3 separate regions of the Homo sapiens genome follow, and all the other regions are linked to region 1. Evidence: promoter capture Hi-C in 16 types of primary human blood cells and fetal thymus (Javierre and others, 2016). All regions are on one chromosome and are shown on one strand. The core of a region is centred on a gene start or on the middle of the fragment in contact, and the rest is flanking DNA. Distances in the headings are between cores, read along the strand shown. Region 1 holds the start of RAB30 (RAB30, member RAS oncogene family). Region 2 overlaps EED (embryonic ectoderm development). Region 3 has its middle 26 kb from the start of EED.

What was found. The method cuts DNA at HindIII sites, captures the fragments that hold promoters and counts their contacts. A CHiCAGO score of 5 or more calls a contact.
Region 2: a contact is called between a fragment that was not itself captured here and the fragment with the promoter of RAB30 in region 1, in 1 of 17 cell types (total B cells). The highest score is 12.0, in total B cells.
Region 3: a contact is called between a fragment that was not itself captured here and the fragment with the promoter of RAB30 in region 1, in 2 of 17 cell types (naive B cells and total B cells). The highest score is 15.4, in naive B cells.

What each region holds. Positions count from the first base shown.
Region 1 is chr11:83,069,828-83,073,146 of GRCh38, reverse strand. RAB30 (RAB30, member RAS oncogene family) reads left to right here and starts at 1,250. Exons shown (of 5, transcript NM_001286060.2): 1 at 1,250-1,456. It overlaps RAB30-DT (RAB30 divergent transcript), which reads right to left and starts at 1,081. Exons shown (of 3, transcript NR_038903.1): 1 at 1,001-1,081; 2 at 343-524. LINC02951 (long intergenic non-protein coding RNA 2951) reads left to right here. Exons shown (of 3, transcript NR_186233.1): 3 at 451-745. RefSeq lists enhancers at 808-1,297, 3,061-3,290, 3,311-3,319. The HindIII fragment of the contact is 10,527 bases long and covers 554-3,319 here.
Region 2 is chr11:86,245,315-86,248,633 of GRCh38, reverse strand. It overlaps EED (embryonic ectoderm development), which reads right to left. Exons shown (of 12, transcript NM_003797.5): 1 at 3,291-3,319. Among named protein-coding and RNA genes, the nearest start is that of EED, 2.2 kb to the right of the region's middle. RefSeq lists a silencer at 693-987. The HindIII fragment of the contact is 524 bases long and covers 1,514-2,037 here.
Region 3 is chr11:86,217,561-86,220,879 of GRCh38, reverse strand. No RefSeq gene overlaps it. Among named protein-coding and RNA genes, the nearest start is that of EED, 26 kb to the left of the region's middle. The HindIII fragment of the contact is 1,706 bases long and covers 944-2,649 here.

The DNA of each region.
Region 1 (3,319 bases), core at 1-2,500:
TATTGCCAGACGTCAGAAGGCCTATCATCAATAATATCCCACCCCTCCCGCCTTTTCTGAGACACGGGCTTGCTGTCGCCCAGGCTGGAGCACAGTGGTAGGATCGAGGCTCACTGCAGCCTCAACATCCCGGGCTCAAGCGATCCTCCCACCTCAGCCTCTAGTGTAGCTGCAACTACAGGGGTACACCACCATGCCCAGCTAATTTTTTTGTTTAATGTTTTTGTAGAGACGGTACGGGGTCTCCGCATGTTGCCCAGGCTGGGGTTGAACTCCTAGAATCACGCTATCTCCCCGCGTCTGCCCCCAAAGTGCTGGGATTAAAGGCGTGAGCGACCGCACCTGGCCAATATCCCCTTTGAACATCTGCTTTCGCTGGTTGGTAAAAAAGTGTCATTTTAAATTTAGTGTTACTCCTTCAGGCTATTCCCTCTCTCTTCTTACTTGCAGGGCCAAAGCAACGTCTCTTTCCACCTTGGTCACCTTCCAACAACGATTTCTTCGGACGCCTTTGTTAATCATTCCTGTATGAAAAATCAGTGAATCTGAAGCTTTGGGGAGAGTGAAAGGGGGTTGGAAAACAAACGGCAAAACAAAAATGCATTTCGGAGGACTACCCCAACTCTGTGGGTGGAAGTGGGCTTCTCCGAATAAAGGCGAGGGTCGCCGCCTCGGGTCCTCGCACCTCAACAAAAGACACCAACTCTCTCAACTGTACTGTTAACAGATCTAAATGATACTCCAAGCCCAAAAGTAAACCGACTCTCTCAATCTCTTAGCTAAAAAATGGAGAAGGAAGCGTAGGGCCCCATGCAACCCCTTCAGGAGCTGAGACCGAGGCTCACTGGGCCTCTGGATGCCGCTTCCAGTCGGTCCCGCCCTACATCAGTCCCCAGCATGGCCTCCACCCTCTGGTTCCCAGGTTCGTGCCCGCGGCTATCCGACCAGATCGTCCTCCACCTCACCGTCCCCACTGAACCACCACTTGACTCCTGCGCACCCCTAAAACCTCTGCCCGGCTCCGCGGAATCGTCCCAGTACTCCTAACATGGCGGCCGAGTCCCCTTTGCTCCTTCACTCTGGGCGCGTCCCACTTGGAGCATTTTGGGCATTGTAGTTTCGGGGATTGCCTGGGTATCCCTTCAGGACGTAAGAAGACTACAGTTCCCAGAAAGCACCGCTCCCGAGCATGGCTATTGGGGACGTTTGGACAGAGGGATGATGTCATTGCAAAAGCCCCACTGCATTCATTGTGCTACGGTCTCTCCACCCCCTGCTGCTGCTGGGCTTGCGATTGCCGCTCGCTCCAGCTGAGCTAAGTGTAGCAGCAGCACCAGGGCAGGGACTGACTCCAGCCCTTGGACTCAGGACATCGCAGACCTTCCCTTGCGTGCGTGACTCATTCGCACATCCATTTCTGTTTATGCCTGGGGTGGGGAGAAAAATCCCAAACCAGGTGAGTTGAAGTGATTTATTCAAATGCTTCTACCAAGTTATTCCTCCCGCTTAGTTCTCAAGGCTTTCTTTTGGGAAGCTGTGAGCGGTGGGGAGGTGGGGGGGATTGGGGAGAGGCTTGCAGGCACAGCTAAGGGGAAAAGCTCTGTGCCATTTGGGTCACTGCAAAGAACAACTCCAGCAACCTTCCCCCGCCAGAGGACGGGTGCCTGCCAATTCCCTAGTCGCAACTCCTCTCAACCTTTTTGAGGCGGAGAGAGGGGGCTGGGCTGGGAAGGATGTTGGGGAGTGCTCTTGGAAAATCTGAGGAAGGCAGAGGTGGGGGACTGCAGTCCTGTCACACACGGCCCGAGAGCTGAGGTTTGAGTGGGAAGGGGTGATGCGTGGGGAGAAATGGAGACAGTGAATTAATGTGGTCGCACTACTTTAGAACATTTGAATGTCGCTTGGACGAGCACTAGTTATTAATTTTTAAGATGAACGTGCTTAAGTTTTGTAGGGCTTTATTTTATGTGTGTATGTCTATGTGGTTTGTCTCGCCTTTTCTGCTGATTTGAGGTGACAGTGTCCTTTAATGGTGCACTCCGTGCCAGTCAGAAACATTTCACGTGTCTGGCGAAGGTTCTTTCAGGCTGCTGGAAGCAGCGTTTTTGTTAAATGTTTTCCGTTCTCCGACTGCTGGATTCAAGATTGTTTGGAAGTGGAGCCGACAGATTTGTGCTTGTGTGTTTTAAATTACATTGCATAGGCTCTTTGCCACTGACAATGGTACCATAATGAGCTGCTGTTTCCTGAGGCATAGTCACTACTCACAAATAACGGTTTGAAGAGATCGATTAGGGAAGAGGGGTTCATTTTAACACATTAGAGAAAGGGAAAGTTAGAAGCGCTGTTAACCTTCATTTGCCATTACTGAAAGGTGCCCATGGAAGAGTGATTTTGGTTGTTTTGTTATTGTTGTTTTTTTAAACGAACTGACATTTAACAGGAGAGAAAGCATTCTGACTTACATGATGCTCTTGTAAGAGTTATAGGGATAATTAGGGCAATAGATATGTTACTTTGAGATAAACAGCTGGCTGGCTCCACAACAGATGGGGCCAGTCTTGGCTGAGAGATCTACACCCTTGGAAATGAATGGGCCTGGGGTCAACCACACCCCCTCTTGGAATGTCAAAAGAAGGAGAAATGCCAGAGTATTTGCTTAACTCTAGAATGCTAAACCTTTTCCTAGCTGAGTCAGACATGGGCGAAATTCTTTACTGGCTGTCTTCTGCTGCTAAGCCAATTTTGTTCATTTTAAATTCAGATCCTTAGGTCTCCAAAGTTGTAGCTGTGTGATATTTCATTAAATGCTGCTTGATGCTGAATGCAAAGGACAGTCCATTGTATGGGCTTTGTAGTAGAGTGATTTATTGGGATGCCAATGAGCAGCTTTTGGATTTGGGAAAAGATCAACAGTTAGCCTTTGCCTCTGCGTCTCTCTGTTGATGACGCTCTGCTCTTCTGGACACCCTACCCTTCTCTCCTGTACTTTCATTTCTTCCCCCCACCCCACCCCATCCCACCCACATCTCTTGAAATTCTGTTTATTTCTCTATCTCTCCATTTGCAGTTTACATTTTTCCTTTCTGTTTCAAAACCCCTCCTTTATCACCAGCATATCACATCTCTTTCTCTTCAATCTTAGAACACACTCCCTGGTCCTCCACTTCAACTAGGAACTCCTGGGTGGATGTAGACTATGTGAATATTTTTGCAGAATCCTCTTTGAAGAGAATTTCTTTGCCTTTTCTTTTTCTTGCAGTCTGTGCTTGGCAGGATGAGCAGCAATGAGCCTGACCCCTGGTCTGGTTTGTAGTTC
Region 2 (3,319 bases), core at 526-3,025, 3.2 Mb before region 1:
TGTCTCCATTTGGAATTCATCTCTCCATTCCTTTACTCCATATATTAATAAATTTGTACTGTTTTGATTTTGCGGGTTAACCATTACTGTATAACATTTGCCTGGTTCCCTCTGAGTAAAAGTTTCAACATGTGTTCACTTGCCATTTTTTCTGTAAAATTACCTTTTAACACTAGAGAACTGAAATTTTAAAAACTCTAAGACGTTTTTATATATCAGTTTCTTTACATTCTGGCTAAACACTGAGCTGCCAATACAGAGGCCACACAAAACATTCGTTAATAGGGCACGTTGCTTATTTTACTTCTGATCACTTAATTTACCCATCTCCTCCCAAGGCAAATCAAGATGGAATCAAATGAAAATGTAATACAGCCACCATGCTTCCATTTTATCTTTAAACTAAAATCAAGTCTTTGCTGAGTGTCTAATATATGTACAGGGTGACCTCCATCCTATTCCATTCTCAAAGTAAAGAATGATACTGTGCAACAGACATGGTACTACCATCTTCACTTGCCCAACGAGGAAAGAGACACAGGGCAGTAATTTGCACCTGCATCTTGCCACAGGGATTCCCTGCATCTTTGCTTTTGCTTAAGCAAAAAGACAAGTCTCCAGATTCAGCCCTCTGATCTTACTACCAAGGCATCCATTAGTACTCTCGCAGAAGCCAACTACTCTGCAGTCATATGATCTCAAAAAGTTCAATAAAATGGCAGGTAACACAATAAATGTAAAATATGTGCCTGTAATTCTCTGACTCACATTAACAGTAGTAACTGCTCAGGTTACCTGAACTCTAACACAAAAACATATTCCCCCACACCCCATCTGCTTTGGCCTTTTGCCATTATTTGGCTCCCTCAAGAGTAAAACTATTGCCCTTATCTTTTCTAAACTCATTTTTATACAATGTTCTCTACTCCCTTACCTTACTACTGCCCCTAAGTCAGGGGTACATGGATGAAATTCAGAAGGCTTGTGAACTCAAATGGGGAAAAAAAATTGCATCTTAATTTTTGCCACCTTTAAAATTTAGCACTTCCTTCTATTATTATCTAGGTAACACATGCTTAATGTTACTGAAGTTGTGACTCTGCCACCAATGGAAATCAAGTATTTTTATATTACACTTCGAAAAAGTGTTTATACCCATCACTACTATCAGACCCGCTGCTAGATCTTGTTACTTAATGTGCTAATAAAGTACATATAGTATAGGACTACATCTAAAATTTGTTTTAGAAATATTTTATAACATGGTGTACAATTTTATAATTGAATTTGTTTGTAACCTCATATCCTGTATTTCATACATCTAAAAATGTTATTTTGAGAAGACTCTACAAGATTAAGGCTTCCAAGGCATGCGCACGCACACACACAAAATTAAGGCTATCCAAATGGAGGAACCAAAACAAAACTAATCCAATCATTTGGTCTTGAACAGCTTTAAAATTGCAGCAAAGAATATGTTTTCCTGTAAGGGTCTGCAAGAAGAAAATAAGCTTTATTTTGTCCTTTGCAAGTTTCTTCATTCTAAACAGGTCTGACAGTTTCATTATATTTTGCCTGATTATTAAGTATGTGGAAGAGCCAGAAACATTATTCTATGTAATCATAAAATTAGTAGTAGTAATTATTATAAATAAATAACATGTGTATAGTACTTACTATGGGGCAGACACTCTTCTTAGTACTTTAGCTATATTAACTCATTTAATGCTTACAAATACTCTATGAGGTAAATACCATACACCACCATCCTCATTTTTAAGAAACTAAGACAATTATGTCAGTCTCTTGCTCGAGGTCAAGCTAATAGAACAGAAATTTTAACCTATCACTTGGATCCAGCATCTGTGCTCTTAATACTCTAATCTGCCTAGAGAAATTTAAGAAAACGCAGAAATAAAATGAACGGTCTTCAAATAATAAAAAGAAGAGGGTAAAAAATGTTAGATCCCAATGTACAGTGAGATTGGGGCGCACAATCGGGTGAAAAATACAAAAGTAACACTTAACACCCAAGCTTTTCTGAAATTTGAAGTCTAAGATCCCACAAACTGACAATCCCAAGAATATCTATCTTGTCTCTGCAAAAAGAATCCTTTCCCATCTTTTCCGTGAAAATCTTAGTCATGACATCATTATATGTTTCAGCTAGGAATTATGACAGAATTTAGAAACTGCGTGTAGAAGATGTAACATTTATTCCTAAAACTAGCCAAACTGAGAAAATGAAGAACTTACGCCACTCTTCTGAAACATTTTAAGGATTTTTTAAAAGATATTCACAAGTTGTTATATATCATGAGAAGGAGAATCACATTTTGGAGTAGTATCTTTGAATAAATTGTCAAGATACTTCGTTGACCTTACTGGTTATCAACCTAAAACATGAAACTGAAAACTTATTTATGTCAATTCGGCTCTTACTGGCGAGTCAATTAAAACTCAGTTGGGTTAAATGTTGGTACCGAATGATTACGAATACCCATTTCAGAGCTTAAAAAAATCTGATTGCAAAACATCGCGCACTTGGCGAAGCCAGGAACCCACACTTAAATACATCTGCCTATACCACTGTTGCCCAAAATCTTCCAGGTCGCCACCCCCCTCACCTTTATCTTAAGTAAAAACGTTCAAAGAAGAAATCACCCACTCTTACTTCCTCAAAGGTAGTCACTCCCCACCCCCAAATCAAAAATCGATCCTCTCAATTCGGCTCCTCCTACAGAAAAGGCGACCTTCAGGCGCACCCGGTCTCCGCGGACAGGACGGAGGCGGACACAAAACCCCCTTTAATAAAGTCTCCCAAACTCCGCAAATCGAAGATCACTTTCCATCCTGAAAATTCCACAAGGGTCTTAGAGTGACAACCCTTACGCTCCTTTAACAGGGTCCCTAACTCTGCCCCGTCCTTCCAACTTTCTTAGAAAAGTCTCTAACGTGCCTTTTAAACTACTAGAATCTCAGACCCGCACTCTCCCCTTAAATCCCCCCAAAGGCCAAAACACTCCCCATCACATGCAAACTGATTTCAGGGCAGACTTCTCAGACCCACGCAATCACTAGAACCACTCTCCTTTGCCTAGTTCCTGCTTGCTCTCGGCCCCACATCAAAATCCCCGTAGGCAATTTCAATTTTCTCCCGCACGCCCGCGTTTTCCTGAGTGACACCTCTCCCTCCCCCCACAGCAGCCCGCTCGTCCCCGCGCCCCCCGTTTTAAAAGAATTTAAAACTTTCACTCCGCAGTCTCGTAACTGCCAGAAGCTGCACTTACATTCTCGTCTCCAGAGAGGTCTGGATTGC
Region 3 (3,319 bases), core at 547-3,046, 3.1 Mb before region 1:
TGTTCACCCAGTGAGGGCCTCAGTGATTATGAAAATAAGAGAGCTATGAGCCAAGACTGGTGGACCACAGTGGAGCAACTTACTTTGCTGACTGGAGTACAGCATGTCTTCACAGAGATTTAAAATAGGTTTTGGAGGGTAGAATAGGAGGGAGGACTTCCAGGAGAAGGAAACAGCACCCACAAAAACACAGACGAGTGAAAGAACACCATGTTTTTGCAGGAATGGCAGGTAGTTTAGACTTCTTTTAAGTAAGTCAGGAAAACATCCTGATAAAATAGTGAAATTAAATCAGTTTTTAGAAAAATAAAGAACTAAAGTTTAGTAAATGTGAAAAGTCCCACAAATAGAACTCCTTATTCCTTTAAAATCACGGATACAAAAGTTGTTCCTACACATATTAATCTGAACATCTGCAATTGTCATAGGTTCCAAAAACTTTAGTTTAATTCTCCAGAATCTCCTAATATCTTATTTAAAGTCATTCTCCTTTTTTTTTTTTTTTTTTTTGAGACGGAGTCCAGCTCTGTCGCCCAGGCTGGAGTTCAGTGGCGCCATCTCAGCTCACTGCAACCTCTGCCTCCCGGGTTCACACCATTCTCCTGCCTCAGCCTCCGGAGTAGCTGGGACTACAGGCGCCCGCCATTACGCCTGGCTAATTTTTTGTATTTTTAGTAGAGAGAGGGTTTCACTGTGTTAGCCAGGATGGTCTCGATCTCCTGACCTTGTGATCCACCCGCCTCAGCCTCCCAAAGTGCATTCTCCTTTTTGATTGGCATCACCTGCTGCCTTTCTCCTTTCTCACTGTATTTAGAGCAATCTTTGCCAAATGATTTTTGTGTCTTTCCAGACCATGATGTGGTTGACTAAGAATTTGTTTAAGCCTAACTATTTTTCAGTTCTTCATTTGACTCAAAAAGTAGTTTGTTGTAGAATAGAAGCTTCCCCTTGAAACAGCATATGGCAAGACCTGGAATTAAAAATAGACTTAACCACTGAAAAATTCTTCCATAAAATTAAATTAAATACGTAGTACAATTCTCTTTTACCATGTTATCCTCAATGGATAAAGATGAACTTTTCTCCTTATTAAAATTGAGAATGTTGCAGAATATTTCCATTATGTGCGAAGAAAAGAGGAACTGGCACTTATTAGCACACATAGTATGCCAGTCTCTGTGACAGGTGCAATCTGAGCGCCATCCTACCACTATGCTTGAATAGAGAGATGGTCATACAATGTCAACATGGTAATAAACTTCAGAGGTCATATAACCCACTGCTTTGGTTCTTTAGAGAAAACGCTGAGGCCCAGAGAGTAGGTTAGTGATCATTCAGTTCATTAAAAACCAAATGGGACTTGAGCTGAGTTTTCTGACACTTAGTCAGTGTTCTTTCTATAACATACTGGTATTCTCAGGAGAGAATTCGTCATGACTTATAGTTACATAGTCACCATTCTTTCCTGTATCTCTGTCTGCCCCATCTCTTTCTTCTATTTCTTCCTTTCTTTGTATTTTTTCATCTTTAACAGTAATGTTTTCTCTATTCTTAGAAAATTGGGTGTTTGAAAACAGCCCTCAACAACTTAATTCAACTTTTATCTAATGATTATTAACTGAATACTGCATCTTAGACACCGTGCTGGGTAATTGGTTGGATACAGTAAGATAATATATACAGATATAACTAAAATACAAGGCAGTGTATGATAAGAACTTTGTAAATAAGTTTTACAGGATTTCAGAGGTAGGTGTGGGGAAAGTGGCCAGTGAACTGGGCTTTTAAAGAATGGAAAAGGTTTTCATAAGGATAAGGGCTGAAGGTAGGACAATAATTTTACACAAATTGAAGAGCAGTAATAAGGATACAGAAGAAGGGAGCAACGCAAGTTGGAGAGATGTCAAGTAGAATTGTATGAGTAACAAACTGTCTTACAGGAGAAAATGGAGGACAAGGCTGAGAAACAGGCTGTTTTATTTCTGCAGCAGGGCAAGGGATCCTTCCCCTTATCAAGGCTAGAATACAAAGAAGGTGGAAGCCCCTATGACAGTCAGCTGTCATAGAAGTTGTAGATAGGTCACCTAGAGGCAGCACTGGAAACCAGCGAAAGTCAGCAATCCAGGTGACAAAAGTATCAACGAACTGGTACGAAAGCTACTACCAACTGGTACAAAAAGAACCACAGTCCAAGGAGACGCTTACTAGCACACGCCTACCTCCAGGGGGTGCTCAAGGCTTCCGTCCTTCCTTCCAAAGAAAAAAGATCTCTGAAGAGACTCCAGGACAAAATGGGGATTTCAGATATAGATGGAGGTTTTAGAGAAATGATTCTGCAGGGGATTCTGTTGAAGGAATAAAGTGGTTATAAACAGAAGTGGGCTGAGAGACTTTCCCCGTCAGTGACCTCTGGCGACTCGGCTTTTGTTAACTCTTGTAATGCTTTCATCTTTTCATCTCTTCACTGCCTTGGGATTGGTGTCTGGGACGTTCTCAAGTCAGGAGGGCAAAAGTAACCTCAGGGAGTCCACTTTGTTCAGTCCAGCTGCTGAGGCAAGAGATCTGATAGGGTTTGGAGCCCAGCATGAACTGGCAGCAAAGCATAGGCGTTTGTCCAGCGTCCTCTGTGTATGTGTTGGATGAGAAGCTTGTGCAGTCACATGCAGGATTCAGAATCCTGGCAGATTCTGAATCCACCTCCTAATTGTACAAGATTGGCATCTGGTGTGGTCTCGCAAGGGACTAAGATTTAGGAGGAAGGAAATTCATAGCAGGATTCTTGCTGCGAGGAAATCTTACCCAAACCTTTAATTAGTGATTACCAACAGGCAGAGATGGATAACTATTTCTAAAGAAAATGTACTCTTGAGAGGCTGAGACTACAAAGGCACATAGCTGCATATTTGTGAGGCTCCATCCCTTATGGTGGGAACAGAATCTGGCCTCGCCAGGAGTCACTTTTGGGACTAGAACATCCTGCCAGCAGAAGTCTGGAATTTGGAGAAATGCAAAGCCAATTGTGAGGTAGATACCTTCTCTACAAAGTAAAGATTGTGTTCTTGGACAGAGCCAGCCCTCATTTAATTTAGGAGTGAGAAGGTGGAAATGCGAGAAGCAATGGCTTGAATCTAGGATCCTGGAGAGGTGTTTAATCCGTAGGAATGAAGCAGACCTGTGAATGACATAGGGAAGAAGGGTGCCAATATCATAAATTGTTAGTTTTGTTAGTTTTAGTCCACGGTGGTGTTCAGACACAACTGTCTGGGAGGGAAGGCAGCCTGCACAGGTGTTGAACTTACCCTAGCATGTGGGTGTCAGA